6 separate regions of the Homo sapiens genome follow, and regions 1, 2, 3, 5 and 6 are each linked to region 4. The links are contacts of gene promoters, found by promoter capture Hi-C in human tissues and cell types (Jung and others, 2019). All regions are on one chromosome and are shown on one strand. The core of a region is centred on a gene start or on the middle of the fragment in contact, and the rest is flanking DNA. Distances in the headings are between cores, read along the strand shown. Region 1 overlaps ERVK13-1 (endogenous retrovirus group K13 member 1). Region 2 overlaps KCTD5 (potassium channel tetramerization domain containing 5). Region 3 overlaps ABCA3 (ATP binding cassette subfamily A member 3). Region 4 holds the start of CEMP1 (cementum protein 1). Region 5 overlaps SRRM2 (serine/arginine repetitive matrix 2). Region 6 has its middle 29 kb from the start of ABCA3.

Region 1 (2,700 bases), core at 172-2,671, 130 kb before region 4:
GCATTCAACAGTCTCAGGTTACCAGAGTAAATCCACATTTACCTTTTGAAGTACTAATTTTTCCCACTGAACATTCACCAACAGGACTCATTATTCAGGGACATAATTTAATTGAATTGTGTTTTCTCCCACACAGCTCTTTACGTACACTAACTATCTAGATCAAATTTCTACCTTAATTGGTCAGGCTCGTTCTCGTCTCCTTCGTCTTTCAGGAACAGAGCCTCAAAAAATCGTTGTTCCCCTTACCCGATTACAAGTTCAACAGGCTTTGCTACTTGCATTGCTTGGCAAGTGCATTTGGCACGTTTCCCAGGTATAATTGATAATCACTATCCTCATGTAAAATTATTTCAGTTCCTTAAACTCACGTCTTGGATTTTACGTAACATTACTAGAAACACCCCATTACCTGAAGCTGTCACTGTTTTCACTGATGCTTCCTCTAATGGCCGAGCAGCATATACAGGACCCAGAGAACGTGTTCTTAACACAGGGGCTATTTCAGCACAACGAGCTGAACTGCCTGCTGTTATGGCTGTCCTTGAAGATTTTCCTGAGCCAGTTAACATTTTCTCTGACTCAGCGTATGTCGTACATGTTGCTCGCAACATTGAAACTGCCTTAATCAAATTTCTGCCTGATGATAACCTATTCCTTCTTTTTCAAAAGTTTCAGTCTGTGCTCAGAGCAAGGTCTTCTCCTTTCTACAGTACTCACATTCGGGCCCACACACCCCTCCCCGGACCCCTCTCGGCAGCAAATGCCAGAGCTGATACATTAGTTACTCCCGTTTTTACAGATGCAGAAAATTTTCATGCTTTAACTCACGTCAATGCTGCGGGACTCCGAAACAAGTTCCCCCTTACATGGAAGCAAGCTAAAACTACTGTGCGTCACTGTCCTACTTGTCAAGTGTTAATTTTACCACCACTGTCTTCAGGAGTTAACCCTAGAGGACTTTCACAGAATGCTCTTTGGCAAATGGATGTGACTCATTATCCTCCTTTTGGCAAGCTTTCTTTTATACATGTAACTATTGATACCTTTTCTCATTTTATTTGGGCCACTTGTGAAACGGGCGAAAGTACAGCTCATGGTAAACGACATGTGCCTTCCTGTTTCTCGGTTATGGGCTGTTCTGAGAAACTAAAAACTGATAACGGCCCCGCCTACACTAGTGCTGCTTTTAAAAAGTTTCCTCAGACATGGGCAATTACTCACACAACGGGCATTCCCTATAACTCTGGAGAACAGGCCTTGGTTGAACGAGCCAATAAAACACTCAAAGATCAACTTCGTAAACAGGATACTAAATCAAAGGGAGATGCTATTACTCCTCATGCCCAATTAAATCTGGCTCTTTTCACACTAAATTTCTTAAACTTAACAAGAAATCAACCTTTCACAGCCGCAGAACAACATTTCACTGGAAATAAATTTGATCCACAAAAAGGAATGCGGGTATGGTGGAAGGACGTAAAAACTAACACATGGGAATTAGGCACGGTCATAACTTGGGGTAGGGGTTTTGTTTGTGTTTCCCCAGGAAAAGAACTACAGCCTGTGTGGGTCCCCTCCCGACAATTAAAATTGCACCATAACTCCAAAGATGAAACGCTCCCAGAAAGAAAAGGCAAAGACCCATCGGAAACAAAAGAGCAACTTTCACCGCCTGATACATACACTTCATGACATCCACATTGAGACAAAATCTCGCCGTGTGACCTACAACACCTCTCGTTCAACCCCACCTACTTGGGGTCGAATACAGATTTTATCTCATCAAACAGAAAAATTCTTAACAGAAAAAGGAATCCCAAAAATGACTGGTAATATAATTCTGGCTGCCTTTATGGTAGTCAGTGCAGCGGTAAGTATACCACCGGTCGGGGCAACTCAAAATTATACTTATTGGGCATATGTTCCTTTTCCCCTTCTAATTCGGTCTGTCTCCTGGAGGGACTCTCCAGTAGAAGTTTACACTAATAATAGTGCATTCATGCCGATCCCTAATGATGATCGGTTTCCAGCTCAACCGGAAGAAGAAGGTATGCACTTTAATCTGTCAATTGGCTATAAATATCCACCATTATGTATTGGGAAGTCGCCTGGTTGTTTAGCTTATTCTTAACAGAATTGGATGTGGACTGTACCGTCCTTTACAAATGATTCTTATCAAGTATATAATGTGTTCAGTACTAACTCTTTTCAACTTCTCACTGTCAAACGTACCCCACATGAGGCATGGAGAGTTCCTCTCACTACCAAAACTAATAAAACAAAAGGACTGCCGGACTGTCCAAAGAAACCTACAAATGGGCCTTTTATAGTGACTTCAATTTTATGGGATAATTGTAATGCTCCCAAGGCTGTTGTACTCCAAACTCTAGCCATGGGTATTGTTATTGATTGGGCTCCAAAAGGACATTATTGGCAAGATTGCTCCAGCAAAAATACCTTATGCTCGGAGTTTATTTATTCCTTAGATTATATAGAGCATGGGTGGCAGTCTTACACGATGAGACAACGGGTGTCTCCTTACCCATTTAAATGGATGGACACAGGTATTGCTCCTCCTAGACCAAAAATTATTCATCCCTTTTTTACCCCAGAACATCCTGAACTATGGAAATTAGCTGCAGCTTTGTCGGGAATAAAGATATGGAACACTACCTATCAGCTCCTTCGTACTAAAAC
Region 2 (2,700 bases), core at 198-2,697, 160 kb before region 4:
CCTGCCTCCCCCCACATGCCTGCAAGGGTCCTGCTCCCACCTGCGAGCCACTCCCACAGGGGCTGGTGCCTGCGGGTGCCCTGGAGGCCGGGGAGCTGAGGCCTCCGTTCAGAAACACCGGCAGCCTCCCCGGCGAGGCCCAGGGCCAAGCGCTGGAGAAGCAACCCCACACCCCATTCGGAGCAGGAGCAGCCCCCTCACCAGATGGTGGCTCCTGTGGGGCCATGGGCAGGCGCTGGCCACGGGAATGCCAGGCTCGCAGATATGGGGAGGCCGAAGGTGTCTCCACCACAAAGCACGGGGCCACGCTAGGACCCTATTTTCATCCATGGACAAATTCTGCCATTTGGGTGCTAAGACCTAGTGGTCTCAAGAGATTTTCCCAAAGTCCACCACCGCAAACCTGCAACAACCTGCTCTTTTTAGATCACAGGGACTGAGTTTTGTGGCTGAGATAAAATCAATTAGGGCTCCGGGCATGGGGGCGCTGGACCCGGAGCCTCGGCGGCCCCCCTACTCCTTAGGGTGACCCCAGCTCCACACAGACCTGACCCTATCCTCCTTCCCCACCCTCCCCCGGAACACTCCAGCCAGAGCTGCCCACCCCACAGGCCCTGCCTCCTGGGCTTGGCCCTGCCTTTCCCCAGCCCTCCAGACTCCACAGCTCTCAAGCAAGGGCCGGGGCCACAGGGCCAGCTCCCGGGAAGAGGACGCTGGGCGGTCCTGCGCAACTGCTAAAAAATGGACACCATTTCCCACAAAGGGGCCCAAGTCTGGCAAGGCGGCCAGTGCTGCCACCCGAGTCCAGGGTTCCTCCCTGCCCCACCCCCATACAGAGAGAATGCTGGCCGCGTGACGTCCGCACACCGCTCAGCTCAGGAATTATTCACGGCTCACTGCTACCTCGACAGACCGCTGGCAGGAGGTCAGGAAAGATCAGATAGGGCGGAGGCTCGCCTCTGCCCAGGACAACCCCAGAGAACCCCTTTGTCAGCCATGGAGGCCTCCAGGCCTGGCCTCAGTGGTCAGACTGCAGGCTCACAGCCAGGCCACCCCAAGCCTCAGTTTCTTTACGAGCAAAAGGTGGGGGAGACCAGCTCGTGTAGCTCGGGGCCGCCATGAGTGCCAGGGCACCCAACCTGTGGCAGGACCTGGGCACTGAGCCGTGACCTCTAGGCCAAGACAACCCACCATGTGCTTCTCAGGCCCTGGGCCGGTGCAAGAGGAGAAGGAAGCGTGCTGGGCGCCCCCAGACACACGAGGCAACCCCAGCCCTGCAACTGGAAGGATGAAGGCAGGAGGGAAGGAGGGCAGGGTGGGGACGGCCATCGGCGGAAACTGCACAGCAGGACAGAGGAACACAGACAGGTCCAAGGAGCCGGCAGGGCACTGAGCGTGCTGGCACTGGGCTCGGCCTCAAGACGGGCAGGCAGGGGTAGGCCGCTGCCGTGTCTTGGCCACTCCTACCACTGGGCGGGGCTGGCTTTTCCATTAAACACCCCCTTTAGGAGGCAGCTTTTGTGGCTGATGCTTTGAAGGAACTCCTGACCTCAGTCTGGCCACAGCTGGCCCAGTGCGGTGATGCCAGCAGCAGGCCAACTGGTGCAGCTGCTGCCATCACGTGATACCTGCCGCTGCAGGGAGGGAACAGGGAGGAGGCGAACAGACCCCACTCCCCACACCATAGCCCACTGCCCTCAGCATGGCAGGAGAGCAGCATGGTTGGGTGGAGAGGGGCCCCGATGCAGAGCTGGGGCTGTGCTTCGGGGGCCTGGGGTGGGTAGTGAGAGTGGCACCAGCGGTGAGGACCCAGCCAGTGGCACAGCCATCACACCCACCCCACTGAAGATGTCAGGTTCCCGGGCCTCGGGAGGAGGATCTGCGTGGGGCTGCCTGGGGCTGCAGCCCTGGGGTTCGCCCCACCCAAACTATGGCTGCAGACCCGGGCTTCCCGCTCCACGGAGCAGGCAGGCCCACAACTGCAGCTGCCCAAACCACAGCCTCAGGCATCCCTGCACTCTTGGGGGCCCAGAAAGGCCCCTCTGCCGGGCCCTTGCAGGCTCAGAAGTGCCTGCTCTCACTGCCTGGCTTACTCCTATTGTTGGTGCCTGCTCCGATCTTGGAGCAAAGTTGGGGCCGAGCCCAGGCGCCATGTATGGCAGCAGGAGGCAGATAGATTCCTGGGAAGAAGGGGGTAGGTCCCCGGTAAGGCCCCACCTTCAGGCCAGGGAGGGCATGAAGGCTGGGGCCGGGCTGCCAGTCCCGGGGACCAAAGTGGGGACTTGTGGTGCGTTTTCCGGGCCTGCCCATGAACCAATTAGTATGCACTTCCTTCCCTCTGGGTCCATAAGAGCCCTGGGCTCAGCCAGAGCAGGGCAGAGGACAAAGAGGACAGAGACAATTGGCAAGTGGAAGACCAGCTGCAGAGGGAAGCTACCCTCTCTGCTGAGAGCTGGGAAGTCAATGGAGAGGAGCCAGCCAGTCCGGGGCCGCTTCTCTGCTGAGAGCTGCCAACTGAATGAGCCGACCTGCCTACAGAGAGGAGCTGCCCCCACAGTCTCCTCTGCACTGTCCCAACACTTGGTAAAGCTTCTCTTCGTCATGCTCACCCTCCACTTGTCTGCTACCTCATTCTTCCTGGACGCAGAACAGGAACTTGGACAAAGGTGCTGCCGGCCAGAGACGTTTCTGGCCAGAAAA
Region 3 (2,750 bases), core at 136-2,635, 250 kb after region 4:
CTCCCCAACGCAGCTGTAAAACTGGAAGAACTTTCCAAAACCCTGGATCACGTGTTCCTGGTGCTGCCCAACCACTGTCTGGGGATGGCAGTCAGCAGTTTCTACGAGAACTACGAGACGCGGAGGTACTGCACCTCCTCCGAGGTCGCCGCCCACTACTGCAAGAAATATAGTGAGTGTCCCAGCCCCGACCCCGGGCAGCACCCCTGCGTCCTCAGGACGTGGTCACTGCAGAGGGGCCTCCTAGGGCAGGGGCTCCTCTGCGTCTGAGTGGCCTGGGGCTGGTGCGTTCCTCTGTACCGCCTTGCCCCACCTCCCACAGCAGCCCCCTCGCGCCCGCTCGCTCCCAGGCCCTGTACCTGAGCTCCCACTCTCCCACCTGCCTCAGTGTCTGGGCATCTGTAACAAGGAACCACAGACCAGCGCTTAGCACGAGGAGTGAATCCCCCATGGCTCAGGGGAGGACCCTTCCTGCTTCTCCCATCTCCTGGAGGCTCCAGGCATCCTGAGCTCCTGGCTGCACCTACTCCCCACCACCGCCTCCATCCTCGCATGGCAGCTCCTGTCTCCTGTCTCAAATCTCCTTCTGCATTTCTCTTATAAGGACACTTGCTGTTGGGTTTAAGGCCCACACTAATCCAGTGTCTCACCTTAAGATCCTTACTAATCACATATTCAAAGACCCTGTTTCTAAGCAAGATCACAACCCCAGGTCCAGGGGGACAGAACTTGGACCTGTCCTGTGGGGCCTCCTCAGCCTCCCACACACCCCTCGGTGCTTGTAACGGTCTCTGTCCTGGTCAGGAGGCAGCCCAGGATTCACGCAGAGCCTGTGCCTCTCAGGCGGGCTGTTGCTGCCCTGGGTCTGCCATGTCGCTCATGGGACTGCATTGGATTGTTACGTGCCTGGCCCCTCTCTGAGCTGTGGTGCCTCGAGAGGCAGCTGTGACCTACTGGCCTTCACATCTCCCCATGGAGGGGACATTGTTACAGGCGCCTTGAGCAGCCTGGGGAGGGGAGTGGGGGCCGGGAACCTGGAAGGGGAGGAGGGTGCCCCAGGCCTCGGGGCACAGTGACTCCCTCGCCCCACAGACATCCAGTACCAGGAGAACTTCTATGCCTGGAGCGCCCCGGGGGTCGGCCGGTTTGTGGCCTCCATGGCCGCCTCAGGGTGCGCCTACCTCATCCTGCTCTTCCTCATCGAGACCAACCTGCTTCAGAGACTCAGGGGCATCCTCTGCGCCCTCCGGAGGAGGCGGACACTGGTGAGTGGCTCCGGGAGCCCAGGACACTGGCGAGATGCTCCCCACGTCTCTGCTTGGGCCCAGCACAACCTGGGGCAGCTCCACCTCCTTCTCCACCAGGCAGCTCCTGCACCAGATGGTCTCCCACTGTACGGCCTCAGCACCAGCCGGCACTTACAGCCAGGGCGGGGCACAGCCCTCGCCACTCACAAGGGCTGTCGAGTTGTGAGCCCCTGCCGAGGAGTCAGCCTGGGGGCCCAGGGCCGTCCTGCTGAGGAGAGGTGGTGCCCAGGGACACCCAGTGCCTGGAGGAGGGGATGTGGGGCTGAGGGGTGCCCAGTCCTGCTGAGCAGAGGTGGTGCCCAGGGACACCCAGTGCCCGGAGGAGGGGATGTGGGGCTGAGGGTTGCCCAGTCCTGCTGAGCAGAGGTGGTGCCCAGGGACACCCAGTGCCCGGAGGAGGGGATGTGGGGCTGAGGGGTGCCCAGTCCTGCTGAGCAGAGGTGGTGCCCAGGGACACCCAGTGCCCGGAGGAGGGGATGTGGGGCTGAGGGGTGCCCAGTCCTGCTGAGCAGAGGTGGTGCCCAGGGACACCCAGTGCCCGGAGGAGGGGATGTGGGGCTGAGGGGTGCTCCACGTGTTTATTGAAAACGTTCATTTTCTCAGGTCTCCATCCCCTCCCTCAAACAAACAAAAGCAAATGTGTTGACATTGCATTGCACATACAGCTTAGCCGAGGGGGAATTCACTTCTTTAAAATAGTCAGACTTCTCTAAAAAGGGAACTGTCTCCACGTGTTAAAATCTTTGGCCAGGCATGGTGGCTCACACCTGTAATCCCAGCACTTTAGAAAGCAGAGGTAGGTGGATCACCTGAAGCCAGGAGTTCAAGACTAGTCTGGGCAACATAGTGAGACCCTATCTCTTCTAAACAGTTTTAAAAATTAGCTAGGCATGATGGCACACACCTGTAATCCTAGCTACTAGGGAAGCTGAGACAGGAGGCTTAAGCCTGGGAGGTCCGGGCTGCAGTGACCTATGATTACACCATTGCATCCCAGCCTGGGTGACAGAGCAAGACCCCATCTCTAAATCTGAAAACAAAAATCTTACTTTCAGGCCAGCCATGGTGGCTAATGCCTGTAATCCCAACACTTTGGGAGGCCAAGGTGGACGGATCACCAAAGGTCAGGAGTTCTAGACCAGCCTGGCCAACACAGTGAAACTCCGTCTCTACTAAAAATACAAAAATTAGCTGGGCGTGGTGGCGCGCTACTCGGGAGGCTGAAGCAGGAGAATCAGTTGAACCTGGGAGGCAGAGTTTGCAGTGAGCTGAGATTGCGCCACTGCACTCCAGCCTGGACAACAGAGTGAGACTCTGTCTCAAAAAAAAAAAAAAAATTGTCTAAAAATCTTATTTTATATTCCCCAGCAGATTTATGATTTTTCTCCATGAGTCCCGCACAGTTCTTTTTCCTCAGATAGTTTATGTCTCCTGGATGCTAGT
Region 4 (2,714 bases), core at 201-2,700:
CTCCAGGGGCGGAAAAGCCGGGCTGAAGAGGTGCCCTTCCTCCACGCTTCTGGTGCCAATCTCCCCTGCTGCGCCCACCCTGGGTCCCTAGCCTGGGCTCCAAACCAACTCCGAGCTAGGGAAGCTCCGAGCCAGGGTGCTTCTAGAGTGTCCGGCCCACCCCTCCGCTTCATTTCCCAAGACAGTGAGGGCGGGGCTAGAGGCCAGGTGCGGAGGTGCGGGACAGGAGCCAAGCTGGGTCGTAGTGGGATCCACCTGTGCGTGATACGTAACAGAAGGGAGAGGCGAGGCGCGGGGAGGTCCGCAGGGATGTGGGAGACGCGACGGGGAGGACTGGGACGAAACAAACTAGGTCCGCAAGGGTATAAGGGGAGCAGCTCGGAGGGTTGGGGCGAGGCGGGGTCTACAGGGGTGTGGGGGGCTTGGCAGGGAGCGCTGGGGCGACGCGGAGCTCCGCAGCGTTGGCGGGGAGCGTTGTGGGGAGACGGGGTCTGCAGGAATGTGAGGGCGCGGTGGGGAGCGTAGCGGGGTATGCAAGGTTGTGAGGGTTGTGGATGGGAGGGCTGGGGCGAGGCGGGGTCCGCAGAGATGTGGGGGGCGCAGAGATGGGGGGGGTCCGCGGGCCCGCCGGGGACCGCGCAGCCTCGGGCTCTGTGCCCGGGGCCGCGCGGGTTAACTAGAGAAGGTGACGCGCGCCCCTGTTGCTCAGCCGCGGCGCGTGCCTTCCCTGCGGCGATCCTAATTGGCCCGACAGAAGCCCGCCCCCAGAAGCCCCTCCCACAGTAGGCAAGGCCCCGCGTGCCGCAACGCTCCCAGAGTTGCGCGTCAGCCTGGACTCAGCGCCTGCGCTACGAGGCTGGGCGGGGCGCGGCCGGATCGGTCGAGAGCGTCCTGGCTGATGACGGTCTCCCGTGCCCACGCCCCAAACGCAGTCTCTGGCCTGGATGTGCTCGGAGCCCACGAGGTGCAGAGGCTCGGACGGCGAAAGGGACCTGGCTGAGATCTGGGTCTTAAACCGCGGGCTCGGCCCAGCATCCCGGCAGCGTGCGCCCACAAGTGACACCCGGCCGGGCGCGGTCTGCGGGATCGCAGGCGCCGGGTCTCATCTCCAGTTCACACACGGGACGAAACGGGCCACCCCTACCAGCTCTGAGAGCATGCACCTCCAACTCCATCCCTCCCCACATGCCCGACCCCCCAACCCGTAACTCAGGCAGACACCTGGGCGTCCCCCTTCAGCGAATGCCCACACCGCGGGCAGGCCTGCCCCTCACCCCGCAGTCAGGGCGCCCTGCATCCTTCTTTGTAAAACCCATAGCTGTAGAGGGAGCGGAATGGTGGGGCAGGGCTGGGAGCCCAGCGGGAGTGAGTGGTGGGGAATGATGGTGGCCAAGGTCACACAAAGCAGTGAATTCACTTCATGTCACAGAACTGCTCAGGTTACGATAGTTACTTTTGTTATGTATTTTACCACAATTTTTAAAAAGCAAACCAAAACCAACCAAGAGTGCTTCCCCCACACCTCAAAATCATCCTGCAGCAGCTCCCTGGCCCAGCTCTCTCTCACCCTGACCCTGGGCCCCTCTCCCACCACCCAGGGCTAGCCCTGTGGACCAACCATCTCTGCCAGCCCCTCCCCGACCCTCCAGCCAGGGAGGTGGGGCGCTGGCCGGTGAATGGGGCAGGCCAGGCCCAAAGGCTGGCCCAGGGCTCACCAGCTCTGGACTGGGCGTCCCGTCTGAGGTGGGGATGACCAACATGCCAGCTCTGGGTTTTAGCTGAGGATGGGCACATCAAGCACTGACAGCCAGCAAGCTGGGCACAGGCGATGCTCAACCTCTAACACATCGGCTGAGAACCTCACCTGCCTCTCCCTGCCTGGGAGCCCTGGCAAGACAGCTCCTCTCCCAGGCCCAGCACAGGCAGGCGCTGGACAGCCACTTCCTAAGGGGTGCGCGGCCGTCAAGGCAGAGGTGGGTATCCCTGCACCTCACACCTCTCAGGAGGTCAGGATCCACATCCGTCGCCTGCTTTCCTGGGCTGCCCCTGGGGCTTGTGGGCTGAGATCAACCCCTTGTGCCCTGCCCCAGGCCCTCCCTCAGGCGAGGCCCTGCCCAGGCAGGTGGTTCTTCCCTGGCTGTTCCCTTCCAACAGGTGGGGCCCAGACCATCCTATCTCTTTGGACCTGGAGACATTTCCTTAACTGGGCTTTGCAGCAGAGGGAAGAGAACAGTGGCAGAGCCAGGCGCGTACCTCCTGTGCCCAGGACAGCACCTGTAAGCAAGGGGGAAGGGAGCCACCCACCCCAGAACTCAAATGGAGAGAAAGTCAAGACAATCACCCCTGACGTGGGGCTGCACCAATCCCTGACGTCTGACCCCACTGTGGCTGTCCTCAGAGCCAAGAGGGCTCCAGAAGCCCACCCGCCTCGAAGCTGTTCAGGGAGCCTCACGGCCCGTGTTTGCCACATGGGTGTGTGCCAGGGCCAAGGGGACACAGAAGATGGCAGGATGACACTAATGGGGTGAGCAGGGCACACTGGTGCCTCCCATACTGCCCTCCAGCACCAGGCAGGGTCACCACAGCCGGCAAGCACTGGGCCTGGGGATGTGTGAAGAGATAGGGTTATTGAGAAGAGAAAACAGAACGCTGGTCATCCGTGGCACTCAGGGCTAGGCAGTCCAGGGAGCAGAAAACAGGGGTCCCGGGCCCAG
Region 5 (2,700 bases), core at 185-2,684, 230 kb before region 4:
ATCCTGCTGGCAAGGTTGGCTGCTGGTGCGGTTCTGAGACTCATGAGAGGCACCGGGGCTGGAACCTGGGACATTCTTGCAGCAAGGCCAGCAGCAGACATGGACGGAGGAGGCCGAGCGGTGCCAAGACTGATAGCTGTCAGGGCAAGTGCAATCCTGGACTGAGCATGATTTTCTGGCACAGATGTTCTCTGGTGGTCAGGTATTCGGGGACCTGGACCATCCATCATGGAGCCGCCGGCTTGCTGCAGGACAGACATGGGTGTTCTAGAGCTGCCAAGGGGTTCAAGCATTCCAGGTGATCTGCAGCGATCAAGAGGTGTTGGGGACATGCTAGGACGACTGAAGCAGCTCATTCTGGAACTGTTGAGTGCTACTGGAGGTGTCCGTGAACCAGAATGATTTCTTGTTGCTGGAGGAGTAGCAGATCGTGAACGATCAGAACTACTTCCAGATGCAGAACGCCTGCGGATGGCTGGAGGAGATCTTGTTAAGGACCGTTTACCCCGAGCTGTTCGTGGAGTACGGGATCTGGAGCGGCGGCGGATAGCAAGTGGTGAGCGACTTCGAGAACGTTTGCGTGGTAACAGTGGCGTTCGAGATCTAGAGCGGCGCCGAATAGCTGGAGGTGTCCGGGACCTAGAGCGGCGGCGTGTCACTGGTGAGGTTCGAGAGCGGGACCTTCTTCGAGTTACTGGAGATGTGCGAGATCGAGATCTCCTTCGGGTGACCGGAGATGTTCTGGATCTTGATCTTCTGCGAGTGATAGGCGAAGTTCTGCTTCGAGATCGCCTCCTGGTTACTGGTGGAGTCCTGGATCTGGACCTTCTGCGAGTCACTGGTGGAGTTCTAGAACGGGAGCGGCGGCGTGTTGTTGGCGTTCTAGACCTTGAACGACGGCGGGTTACTGGTGGCGTTCTGGATCTGGATCGCCTTCTGCTCACTGGGGATGCTCTTGACCGGGATCTTCGTCGAGTCACTGAAGTCCTGGACCTTGACCGTCTCCGGCTGACTGGTGAAGTTCGAGATCTGGACCTACGTCGGCTTATCAGGGGGGTTCTGGACCTGGATCGCCGGTGAGTGGCTGGAGAGGCTCGAGATCTAGAGCGTTTCCACGGGGCTGGTGATGTGCGTGAGCGAGAACGCTTCCGACTGGTTGGGGGTGTCCGAGAGCGGCCTCTTCGGCGTCGAGAGGAGGTCCGGGAACTTTCCTGCCGGGCAGGTGACCTTGAGTGATAACCAGAGCCTCCCCTCCGCCGCCGAGTAACCCGCGACCTTGACCGGCTCCGCTGTCTTCGCCGAGAGGTTGACTGAGAAGATCCAGACCTATCTCGACGTCGGGTTGTTCTTGTTTTCTCTCTCCTTGAGCGGGAACGGGACCTCTGGAGTCCACGAGGCTTTGGCGAAGGAGAGCGGCCTCTCCTTGAGGTTGTCTTAGTGCGTGGAGATGAAGCTGAGCGCCGTCGGCGTGAAGACCTCGATTTTTCGGCTGGCTCCGGGGAAGACACTGAGGGACTTCTCCGGTGCCTTGGGGGAGTTCTAGAGCGAGTTTCTGGTGAGGATGAGGCAGAGCGGCTTCTACGGGACAGTCTGGCCTTCCTTGTTAGCTCCGGAGATGATCGAGAGCTGCGACGTCGAGGTGGTGTACGAGACTTGGTCTTGGGCTCTGGTGATGACCTGGAACCTCTGCGAGCAGTTCTGGATTTGGGCGGATGTTCAGGAGAGGACTCGGTACTGCTGCTTCCTTCAGGAGAAGGGCCTCTGCCTTTGCTTGATGAACCTGATCTGCTTCGTCTGGGAAGGGCCCGAGGGGCTGGAGCTTTAGGTTCAGGAGAGGAATCAGAACCACTCTGTGCCCTGGGTGCTGCTCTTGGCTTATCTTTCACTTCAGGGGAGGAACCAGACCTACTGCGCCGAGGGGATAGTCGAGATTTGCTGTCAACCTCTGGAGATGATCCAGACCGACTCCTCTGCCGAAGTGGGGTTCTTGTCTTGGCTTTAGAATCTGGAGAAGAGTCTGACTCACTTCTTTCCTGAGGGGATGCACTGGGTTTCACATCAAGTTCTTGAGAGGATCCCGAACGACTTCTCTGCCCCAGGGGAGTCCGAGCCACAGTTTTCTGATCAACTGATGATTCTGACCCGCTTCTTTCTCTCTGGGGGGTAAGACACTTGTTGTTGAGCTCTGGGGATGATGGAGAACGACTCCTCGGCCTAGGAGTCTGAGGCAAAGCTTTCGGTTCTGGGGAAGAATCACATTCGCTTCTCCCTCTAGATGGCGTTCTAGGTATATCTTTCATTCCAGGAGAGGACCCAGACAGGCTGTGCCTCGAGGGAGTCCCAGACCCATCTCTAAGTCCTGGAGAAGACCCAGACCTGCTTCTCCTTGATGGAGTTCTGGGTAAACCATCTTTCATTTCAGGAGAAGATGCAGAACTACTTCTTTCTCTCGAGGGTGTTCTGGGTACAGCATCAAGCACAGGTGAAGAGATGCTCTGATTTGAAGACATCCCTGCCTTTTCCACTGCATCTGGGGATAACTCAGAACTGCTGTGTCCAGAGGATCTTGTCGATTGTTCTTTCATGTCTAGAGATGGATCTGTTTCCAGCTGATTAAGAAACGGTCCATTCAAATCTTCTTTAACCTCAGAAGAAAATCCAGTATTCATTTCTGTACCAAGTGGGCCTGAGTTTCTAAAT
Region 6 (2,700 bases), core at 9-2,508, 160 kb after region 4:
ACCTTGGAAGTTGCTTGGACACCTAAGCAACCTCCTTTTGGCTTCATTCCTATTCTGGTCATTTTTCATTAGCAGCTTCCCCATACCCCTGTCCCAGGAGAGGCATACACTTGAAGTATCTGGGGTTACCTTCAGTCTTTTCTCTTTCTCCAGTACAATGGAACTGATGATGATGAGCTCAATGTACATGAAGCTGAGTATGAAGAACACAGAAAACTCATTCTGAAGGACTAGGAAGAACCTGTCCTCGATATAGGGTCCATATGGGAATCTCTTCACAAGTACATTGAGATTCTCAAACATGTTGGTCATTGCATTGTGAGCATGGTACCACATGATGGCTTTATCCACAGCATACTGTATGGCCAGGAAGCCTTCTTTGTTGTATCCTATGAGAAAATAGTGAATATCAAGAAATTAAGGTCAGGAGTTCGAGACCAGCCTGGCCAATATGGTGAAACCCCATCTCTACTAAGAATACAAAAATTAGCTGGGTGTGGTGGTGCATGCCTAAAGTCCCAGCTACTCGGGAGGCTGAGGCAGAATTGCTTGAACCTGGTGGGAGGCAGAGGTTGCAGTGAGCTGAGATTGCGCCACTGCATTCCAGCCTGGGCAACAGAGGGAGATTCCATCTCAAAAAAAAAAAAAAAAAAGAAAGAAAGAAAGAAAGAAAAAGAAAAAAGAAAGAAAGTATAAAGATACAACAACTGGTGTTTCAGACGGATCATGGCTAGGCATTCATAGAGACAGACAGCGGTAGGAAAGGCATCCCTAGAGTCCTCACTACAGTGTGGAAGAAAGAGAGGAAAGTCACAAGGGAGACCCCTGGAGCTGAGGGTAATGCATATATGATCCAAAAATGGGGTAAAGGAGCCTGGGCAGGCAAAATAAAAGATGTCCAATACAAGAATCTTTTGAGGTGGGACCACATCTCCTCCCCTTAGTATTCAGACTTCAGGGAAAGAGCACCTCTTCTGCAGTTTTGATCACACAGCACGTATGAGATGGTTAAACTCAAAGCACTCATATGAGATGGTTAAACTCAAAGCACTTGAAAGACACAGCCTCCCTAACCTGTTGTGACCTACTTCTGAATTGTTACCGCTGTTGGGTTTATGGTCAGTGAATTTTACTACTAAGTCTCAAAAACAGTCCTTATCACAAGCAACACTCATTTCAATACAGCATAGTTGGCATGATGGGGTCAGCTTTCAGGAAAAATAGGCTGAAAGGCAAAGATTCCTGGTTCTGGGGTCCTCTAAGAGATAACAGCCCCACCTCCAAGCAATGGTTACCAGGCTCCAACATGAGCAAAGCCAAGGTGGGGTACCTCAACCCCCTCCCAGGAGTAGAGGTGGCTATGGTCTTCAGATGGCCTAGACCTAGGCAGACTCTCAGATCTGTCCAGGAAAAAGAAGGAACAAATTGTTGGTAATAAATTCTCAGAATGGTTACATATTCTTGATTGTGTGTAGGAGTATTTTCACTGCAGAACTGCTGGATCTTTTCTAGAATTATGCAAAACTGTAAGTACTCGGACTTGGACTCTCACTTAGTGTGCACAAAGGCCTGAGGCTTCAAGCCAATATTTGAGCCATTCTACAACAGATGTAGATTACCAGCTTAATTTTCTAAGAAAAGTTAGTTGCCTAGAGGATGTTCACCCTAAACCCCTCACAAAAAGGAAGACCAAAAAATCTAAAGTGAATGGGAGAGCATGAGTCTTTCAAGAGCGGATTGGCCCATGGGCCTTCAGTCGGGAATGTGATGCTTATTGTGAAGGACAGAGGATGCACAGGTGTCAGTGTTGCCCCAGTACTTCTCTAGGAACCTGGGGTTGCCAGAAGCGAGAGTTGGGCAACGCAGGCAGATCCAGGGAGTACTGGGTGCCAAGTTTTAGGTGTTTGCTCTGTCAGGTGCAGTTAGACCCCTTTGCATGGGAGAGAGCAAGCAGATGCAAAGCAGCCACTCAGCAAGGCTCTCTCCTTCACCCTCAACAGAGGGTGACAGAGCAGAAAGTCAGCATGGCTCCCCAAGAAGAGAGGACTATGGCAGCCAGGAGTCAGGACCTGGCTTTGGGACCACATGCCAGCCCTTGGGACAAATAGGAACTCCTGGAAAAACTCCAACCTTCTGGCATTAATTTTCTGTCCTCTTATCCTGAATGACAGACAGGGAAAAGGAGATTTTCCCAGACTAGAAATGCAGATAGGGAGATTCATGAGAGGGAAAGGGAGAGGGCCAGCCAAGACCAAGAGGCCTGAAGAACAGGAACTGGGATTCTGCACCAGTGTTGCAGATGGGGCAGGGAGGATGGAATAAGAATCAAGGCAAGATCTAAAAGCATCAGTCAGAGTAAATAAAATCAAAGTGAAGCATCAGCCAATGAACAGGCCAGAAAGAGTTCAGGGATTCCCCCAAAGCAGGAACAGACTCTTTGGAGCTGCACAGACATGCAGAGAGTCCCAAGAGTGTGGATGATTATCTTCTGTTTCTTCTTCATTAAATTAAATGAGACGGATGAAATGCAAAGGATACAGTCAGTGGAGATTGTAATGGAGGCATGTTAGACATAGATCATACAATATGACATGCGTGTTGAACAGGACATGTGTTTAAAAAGATAGAATAGGGCCAAAAGTGGTGGCTCATGCCTGTAATCCCAGTAGTTTGGGAGGCCGAGGTGGGCGGATCACCTGA

The links. Contacts are between HindIII fragments. The study calls those that stand out against the background at their distance.
Region 1: a fragment that was not itself captured here is called in contact with the fragment with the promoter of CEMP1 in region 4 in 5 of the 25 tissues and cell types used here (dorsolateral prefrontal cortex, mesenchymal stem cells, mesendoderm cells and 2 more).
Region 2: a contact is called between a fragment that was not itself captured here and the fragment with the promoter of CEMP1 in region 4, in 2 of the 25 tissues and cell types used here (bladder and dorsolateral prefrontal cortex).
Region 3: a contact is called between a fragment that was not itself captured here and the fragment with the promoter of CEMP1 in region 4, in 4 of the 25 tissues and cell types used here (dorsolateral prefrontal cortex, lymphoblastoid cells, mesenchymal stem cells and 1 more).
Region 5: a fragment that was not itself captured here is called in contact with the fragment with the promoter of CEMP1 in region 4 in 1 of the 25 tissues and cell types used here (lymphoblastoid cells).
Region 6: a contact is called between a fragment that was not itself captured here and the fragment with the promoter of CEMP1 in region 4, in 5 of the 25 tissues and cell types used here (IMR-90 fibroblasts, dorsolateral prefrontal cortex, heart right ventricle and 2 more).

What each region holds. Positions count from the first base shown.
Region 1 is chr16:2,662,257-2,664,956 of GRCh38, reverse strand. It overlaps ERVK13-1 (endogenous retrovirus group K13 member 1), which reads left to right. Exons shown (of 3, transcript NR_040023.1): 3 at 1,550-2,700. Among named protein-coding and RNA genes, the nearest start is that of ERVK13-1, 9.8 kb to the left of the region's middle. The HindIII fragment of the contact is 6,273 bases long and covers 1-2,700 here.
Region 2 is chr16:2,692,220-2,694,919 of GRCh38, reverse strand. The region is part of intron 1 of KCTD5 (potassium channel tetramerization domain containing 5); the gene reads right to left. Among named protein-coding and RNA genes, the nearest start is that of KCTD5, 11 kb to the right of the region's middle. RefSeq lists enhancers at 784-1,601, 1,602-2,420. The HindIII fragment of the contact is 3,408 bases long and covers 1-2,700 here.
Region 3 is chr16:2,281,701-2,284,450 of GRCh38, reverse strand. ABCA3 (ATP binding cassette subfamily A member 3) reads left to right here. Exons shown (of 33, transcript NM_001089.3): 25 at 14-172; 26 at 1,093-1,265. Among named protein-coding and RNA genes, the nearest start is that of MIR4717, 8.5 kb to the right of the region's middle. The HindIII fragment of the contact is 5,543 bases long and covers 1-2,750 here.
Region 4 is chr16:2,530,144-2,532,857 of GRCh38, reverse strand. CEMP1 (cementum protein 1) reads left to right here and starts at 1,450. Exons shown (of 1, transcript NM_001048212.3): 1 at 1,450-2,714. The coding sequence starts at 1,785. The coding sequence ends at 2,528. It overlaps AMDHD2 (amidohydrolase domain containing 2), which reads right to left. Exons shown (of 11, transcript NM_001330449.2): 11 at 1,441-2,714. It overlaps MIR3178 (microRNA 3178), which reads left to right and starts at 853; the gene lies at 853-936. RefSeq lists enhancers at 168-217, 1-219, 998-1,047. The HindIII fragment of the contact is 25,225 bases long and covers 1-2,714 here.
Region 5 is chr16:2,764,524-2,767,223 of GRCh38, reverse strand. SRRM2 (serine/arginine repetitive matrix 2) reads right to left here. Exons shown (of 15, transcript NM_016333.4): 11 at 1-2,700. Among named protein-coding and RNA genes, the nearest start is that of ELOB, 11 kb to the left of the region's middle. The HindIII fragment of the contact is 3,944 bases long and covers 1-2,700 here.
Region 6 is chr16:2,368,027-2,370,726 of GRCh38, reverse strand. It overlaps the pseudogene ABCA17P. Among named protein-coding and RNA genes, the nearest start is that of ABCA3, 29 kb to the right of the region's middle. The HindIII fragment of the contact is 6,058 bases long and covers 1-2,700 here.